Regions from separate parts of the Homo sapiens genome. Here region 2 is linked to region 1. Evidence: promoter capture Hi-C in 16 types of primary human blood cells and fetal thymus (Javierre and others, 2016). All regions are on one chromosome and are shown on one strand. The core of a region is centred on a gene start or on the middle of the fragment in contact, and the rest is flanking DNA. Distances in the headings are between cores, read along the strand shown.

Region 1 (3,369 bases), core at 334-2,833:
AGTTCTGGGCAGCCAGGCCTGGTGAGTGATTGGCAGCAGGCAGAGCCCACGTTTCCGAACCCTCTGTGTTGCTTCTGGCTCAGCATGAGAGGTGGCTGGGCCCTAGGAGAGGGCTTAGGCATACCTGGCACCCAAGCCCACAGCTGCCTCATTGTCCCTGGGGGAGGAGCTGGGCTGCTGCCACTGACCCGAGGCTGGGAGCATTCTTTCCTGCTGATTCATCATGGGGAATGTTTTGGGCCCAGCTGGGGTGGGGCAGGGGCACTGGGGGGACATCTTGGACACGGGCAGCCAGGAGTGGATGGCAGGTCCCTGGCAGCAGGGTCATTAAGACCTGGCTGTCACCCAGGATCGAAAAGGTCCATCTTGACATCCTAGCTCTATCACACTCTGCCTGTCCAGGCTTATTCTTACTTGCACATCTGCCTCCCCCACCAGACTGGGAAGGCCCCCTCCAGCGTCTAGCACTCCAGCACCCTGTCTAGCATGTAGGAGAAAATCAATAAAGGCTTGTGGGATGAATGAACCTTTGGAAGGACGTTTAGGCAAGGTGGGGGCAAGAGGGGGAACCAGGTTGGGCAGCTGTGGGCCTAGGGAGGAAACCGGGAGGCTGGAACCCTCTGCCCATTTTACAGATGGGGCCAGTGAGGCTAAGGGCAGGACCAGGTCTAGGGGAAAGAAACTGGGGGCTTGGACTGGGGTTCAGGCACCTAGGTGCTCAGTTCAGCTGATGGGACTCCTCTCTGTCAGCCATGTCCACATTTCTTTAATTCTACAGTCCCTGCTCCCTGCACTAACACCCTCCTCCCGTGAGTCTGACAAGGGCCAGGACTGCATCATTCAGCTCTGTGAAGGGGTTCTCCCATTCACTGTGTATTGCCTGGAGGAGCAAGTTATGTCGCCTGGGGCTCAGTGTTCCCAGCTGCACAATGGGCAGCGCAGAGTTTCACACGGAGGGCGGGGGGGGGGGGGGGGGCGGTATTCAGTAAACTCTGGGTGACTCGCCTGTTCCTGCAGGAGAGCACCGCTGCACCGCGCCACCTCGACCTCTCTGAACTGAGCCCCGGCCTCCCAGAAAGGGCGTCTACATTGTCCTAAGTGACCGAGCTCGTGAGATTCGGCCCCTGTGACAGCCGGGCGCTCCCGTGCGAAGGGTGCTGTGCCGGGGGCCCTGGCACCCACCAGGACTCACAGACTGGGACTCTAGGTGGGCGTCATTACCTTGTTCTGCAAAAGAGGAAACTGCCTGGGAGAGGGACTCCCGAGGCCGCCGCGGCCCTCCCTGCAAAACAGCCGCGGGCCCAGCGCCGCCCTTTCCCGAGAGCTCCGCTCCCCGCGACCCCCCGCCGCCCCCCCGCTCCCCCCGCCCCCCGGGACTTCCCGGCCCCGCCGGCTGCGGCTGGGCGCCCCCGCCACCTGGCCTGTGTCCCGACGGGGGGCGCCGCGCGGAAGGCCGGGCGGGGCGCCCGCGGACTCCAGGCCCGCCCGGGGCGGGGCCTGCGGGGCCTCCTCCGCGGCCAGCTCGGGGCTGGGGGGCCGCGGGCGGGAGGCGGATAAAAAGGCCCCAGGGCGCCCGGGGAGGGAGCCCGTTAGCGCTGCTCCGCCGCGGCGCCCGCCCAGCCCCGGACTGTCCGCGCTCCATCTGGTGAGCCCCCGCCTGGCCGCGCGTCTGCCTCTTGGTCTGCCTCTTGCTGTCCCATCTGTCCTTCTGTCTCTCTGTGAGTCTGCAGGCCTCTGAGGGTTCCTGGAGACTGGGCCTAGGGTGCATGGGGGATCCCTTGGACCCTCAGCCCGGCCCTCCAGTCGCTCACCAACCTGCTTCCAACTGGACAAGTGACCACGCTGGGGAGCTTGGCCCAAGGCCCGCCCTGAGTGGTGCGCCCAGGCCTCAGGGGTGCCTGCGTGTCTTGTTTGTGTACACGCCGTGTGTAACCATTGCTCTGCCTTCTTCCAGGGAGGAGACAGGGAAGGGGCAAGGCGGGTTCAGATGTCACACTTACGACTTGGGGGACAACGAACCAGGGCTGATCTGGGCTCTCCAACTATCCAGACCGGAGCTGATTATGTTGGGGGGTCGGCGTGTGACAGAAACACCGAAGGGAAGGGGGCAGAAGACTTCAAGCCCCCTCTTTCCTAGCCTGGACAGGTACAGCTCAGAGACCATTTGTTGGCACTGCTTCAGGTCCACAGAGTCAGTAACCCCGGGGAGGCTACAGGGCTGAGAGGAGGCTGCTGAGAAGAGCTGCCCAACGGCAGAGAAGGGATGAGCCATCCTAAAGTTGCTGCACCCTCAGGACAGCACCCCCCATGCTCTCTCTTGAATACTCGGGCATTTGCTGTCTTCAGCCCTCCCTACCTGCGCTAGGTCAGGCCAGGTCCCAGCATCTCCTGGCACACCTGGAGCAGGTGCCTCTGTGCCTCAAGCTGGCAAGATCTTGGATCTGTCACTCGGCATTCAGCGAAGAGCACCCTGCCCAGTGCCCTCACACCACGGCCTGGGTCATAAATCCACCAGAACAGGGTGGAATTTCAGTCGGCTCCCGGCCTTCCTTTCCTCCTCCCCCTCTTCCAACATCCATTCTTGGTGGTTTTGAGAGTCCGGCGTCTAGCCAGGCTGCTTGGGTTTGAATCCTGGCTGGGCAAGTTACTTGACTTCCCTGGACCTTACCTTCTCATCTGTAAAATGGAGATAAGTATTTAATCCGTATTTTAAAATGTATAGTTATTATCCTCACTTCCCTCCCCTCCTCTTTCCCTTCCACCTTCCTTCCCTCTTCTGTCCCCTTCTCCTTTATTTGGGAAAGTAACGGCCACTTTCGAGGCCGCTTCCTTCTCTGAGGGAGGATGCACAGCTTGGTCCTCTGTGCTCAGTGCTAGGGGAACAGACAGGTGGAGTCTGGTTGTGGGGTCAGGAAGCAAACACACAATGTGCTTTGTGGAAGGCTTTGTGGGAGGGCTTAATGGAGGGGGTGGCATTTGAGCTGGCCTTGTGGGATGTGTAGGAGTTTAACAGTCTTAGATAGAGGGAAAGGAACAGTGAGAGCAAAGGCTTGGAGGCTGGGAGACGAAGGCTATAGTCTGGTGTGAGCAAAAGCTCTCGGGGGCCTATAGTGGGCAGGAAGGCCAATAAGAGGGACTCTCCCTGCATCTAACTCTTGGTTCCCGCTGCCGTCCCCCCACCTTCCAGCAGCGTTCATGGAAGGGAGCTTCCCTGGCCCAGACCCCAGGGTCCTACAGCAGAAGCCCTCCCATGCCCTCAGGTTGGTCCCTTGGAGAGGAAGGAGCTGCTGGCCTGGGACTGTCCACAGCCTGTAACAAGACCTCCTCAGTGTGTCAGGGACTTCAGCCAGGAGCCAAACAGCAGACCTG
Region 2 (3,369 bases), core at 285-2,784, 960 kb before region 1:
GGGAGGCGCCACGTGGAGCGCTCCTTCCACGTGGAGGAAAGGTAGCCGGAGGACTGAGAGGCTGTAGCTGCCCTTGCCGAGGCCGTTTCGGTTCCTGTTGGTGCGGTTGCCGCGAGGGCGGAACAGCCAGCTCCGCGCGGCCCAGCTTCCTCTTCGAAAGCTCTTTCGTGCAGCAGAGCGCGTCTATGAGCTCGTCCGAATGTAGGGTGCAACGGAGTTTTCCGCAACGCTTGTCCCACTTTCATTGAACTCCTTCAGCTGCGCAGACCCCCTTTCCCCCACCAGCTTTCTTTCTTTTTTTAAAAAATCTGCCTGTTCGCCTAATGCTTTCCTGCCTCAGAAAAGAGTCTGGAAGGCAGATTTTCGGGGAAGAAGTCCTGGCGGGGCGCATTCGCATTGGCTGTGCAGGCTTCTGGATGAAAGGTTGTTGGAACTGCCCTTTCCCCAGGACCGGATTCGCGCGGACGTCTCCTTTGCCACAGTAGGCCCACGCGACGCCCTGACTGTGCCTGTCCTGGAGTGCGGTCCCGGAGACTTCTGCCAAACGACCATTCTGGTTACAAGACCCTGGGGTAGCCACGTCTCTTCTCAAAAAACTCTCCAAAAGCAGAGTCTGTTTTTTCTTTCTCGTATCCACCTCCTTTATGATGCTCTTTAACGTCACCATGTGGATTTGGGTTTTCAGAATCTGAAACAGTAAAGCGTTAAAAAATAATTTACAGACCCGGAACTCAACAGCTGATCCCCTCTGCATTATCAGTATCTGCATTGCTCCTTTTCTACTCCTTCCCAAAGCAGCAGCCTTTGGCTTTTAAAAAACCTATTGATGGAAATCCTGACCTTAAATAGATGCAAATGCTATTGTTTTGTGCTCATTTAGTATCCCATAACGCGCAGGTTCCACATTTCGGCAAGCTTCATTTTCCCTAGCGGTTCCAAACGGCCCCAAGTGGGAAAGAAGAAAGATGGAGCCTAACTCGGGGGTGGGGTGGGGAGGAGGATGTTACCTTTCCTGAGATCAGGCGGAATTATTTCAGGGGCCAAAGAGACTTTGCCTTTACTGTGTGTGTGTGTGGTGGTGGTGGTGGTGGTGCGGGAGTGGAGAAGTGTTCTTGGAAAGGCGAGGGTTTACCCTGGGGATCTCTCCGTCCGGGGATTTGGGAAACAATGCAGTTTTTACAATATAGTGAAAAAGGAAAATCAACTCGGACATTAAAAGAAAGAAAGTAGGAATCCACTTAAGCTCAGGCGCCGGGCCTGGTCTGAGAGAAACAAGGCAGGTTTCACCTCCTGCACGGAGGTTTGTGGGGCCCCTGGGGCTGCGGAGGCAATGCCGGCTTTCAGCATACAAGTTTTTGGCAACGGTCGGAAGCCAGAGGTAGGCGCGCCTAGCGCGTCTCCGCCCGGAGCGCTTTCCTGGCAGTGGCAGAAGCCGGGCAACTGCGCTTTAGCGCCGTGCTCGTAGCACGTACACCCACCCCATACAAACACTCTATGAACAAACACTATCTGTAGCCTTTAGGAGATCAGGATCTGGGTGTCTGCGGGAGGGGGCCGCTGCGGGCGTCTGGAAGCGGGAGGCACAGCCCCCAGAGCCGGGCGGTGAGGGCGGGCTGGGGCGCAGGGCAGCGGCCAAGGGCCAGCGTGGACTGCCGGCTGGGGCAGGCACAGAGCCTCTAGCCCCGGCCAGGTCGCCCTCAGGGAGTAGGAAGAGGGCCCTTCTCCGTGCCCCACGCGCTCTCGTCCTGTCCTGGGAACCTTTCCTCTCTTATTCTCTTCCTCTGCAGCTCCAAGCGCTTGGTGACCCTGGCCCGGGGACTTTCGCCCGCCTTTCTGCGCTTCGGGGGCAAAAGGACCGACTTCCTGCAGTTCCAGAACCTGAGGAACCCGGCGAAAAGCCGCGGGGGCCCGGGCCCGGATTACTATCTCAAAAACTATGAGGATGGTGAGAAACTTGATTACCATTCTTTATTTGGGGAGCGGAAGCAAGCACCCGCTGTGTTTGTGTATCTGTGTGTTCGTGTGTCTGTGTGTTCGTGTGTGTGTGTGTGTGTGTGTGTGTGTGTGTGTGTGTGTGTATGCGCGCGCGCGCGTTGGGGCAGATTTGGAGAGCCTGGTTGCACCTCGCCTGAAAATGAAAAGTTGGAAGCTTCAGATGAGGAGACACTGCAGTGTGGAACTCCTGACCTCATTGCGCAAAGGGGGTTCTCCAGGTTGTTCTCACCCAGCTGCCGGCCTTTTGCTGGGCGGCTGTCTTGGAGGCTGAGAGCTGGTAGCCCAAACTGCTTAACAGGCTGTTCCTGCGGGGTGTAGATGCAGCAGGTTTTTTGAGAAAATTCAGCCAGGTTCATAGATTATTAAAGGTCAGAGTCATATTTCATTGCTAAAATTCTAGGCAAAGTGCCTTTCTGTTTTTCTTATTTCTTGCCTTCCTGTGATTAGGGTACAGAAGGAATTCAGCCGTTTTTGAAACCCACTCTAAAGTTTTCTGGAATAATCCCTTTTAAATTGGTCCCTTGTTGAGGAAGGTTTGGAAATCTCCACAGTTAGTTCTTCTTCAGATTGCCTAATCTCAGAGTTGCATTTTTTTTTTTCTGTTTTAAAATGGGATTACAAATGCCAGCTTTCTTTCCTGACGGGATTAGATAAGTGTTGGAAGGGCTTTGAAAACTTGAAATCTTATTTCAATCTGAGAGGCCAATCTTTTTTGGTTTGAACGGTCTCATTTTTACTAGGGATAAAAAATGAAAATGCTATTGAAAATTTTTTGTTTAGAAGGTTAGGTGTTAACATCTATGAACTTCCTGTTTAAGTGGAGGGATGTACTTTCAAAGAGGCACGATGGAGGGTATTGGCGTTTCTTGAGCTATTGACACTGTTAAGATTGGATAGAAGAGGCATTAGTGTCCATTCTTGGAGGGCTATCATCCCCGTTGCTGTTCCTTCTTATAAGTAAACTAGTTTTATATGTAAAGGGCTCAGGGACAGATTTTCAGAGCCTTCTGAATTTTGTTATATCTTGTCCTTACAAATCAGCTAAAGGAGCAAATGCCCTTGTATTTTCTTGGGCCTTCATTGAAAAGTACTTCTGGAGAGGTATTGGAATGTATTTCAAGGGTGGCAGAGGAACATTTTTTTTTAAGTGCCAGAATAGAGAAAGAGGGCAAGGCTAAGGCTTCTTGAGTTTGGAGCATGACTAGGACTTACTCTTTTATAACATTTGCCAAAGCATGTAGGTGTTTAAGGCTATATCTTTTCAAAGATAAAAGTCATTGCTATGAAAGTATGGATTGCAAGTAGACTTTTGCTGTCACTCAGCATAAATGCTGAAAGGTAAAAGATAGTCTTTAACAGCACCTCCTATGGTAA

The links. The method cuts DNA at HindIII sites, captures the fragments that hold promoters and counts their contacts. A CHiCAGO score of 5 or more calls a contact.
Region 2: a fragment that was not itself captured here is called in contact with the fragment with the promoter of LOXL4 in region 1 in 1 of 17 cell types (naive B cells); the score reaches 5.7 in naive B cells.

Annotation. Positions count from the first base shown.
Region 1 is chr10:98,266,408-98,269,776 of GRCh38, reverse strand. It overlaps LOXL4 (lysyl oxidase like 4), which reads left to right and starts at 1,583. Exons shown (of 15, transcript NM_032211.7): 1 at 1,583-1,645. It overlaps LOC124902489 (a long non-coding RNA gene), which reads right to left and starts at 1,335. Exons shown (of 2, transcript XR_007062260.1): 1 at 1-1,335. RefSeq lists enhancers at 1,636-2,135, 2,136-2,637. The HindIII fragment of the contact is 15,496 bases long and covers 1-3,369 here.
Region 2 is chr10:99,230,924-99,234,292 of GRCh38, reverse strand. HPSE2 (heparanase 2 (inactive)) reads left to right here. Exons shown (of 12, transcript NM_021828.5): 2 at 1,788-1,945. Among named protein-coding and RNA genes, the nearest start is that of HPSE2, 3.2 kb to the left of the region's middle. RefSeq lists a silencer at 12-131. The HindIII fragment of the contact is 1,234 bases long and covers 918-2,151 here.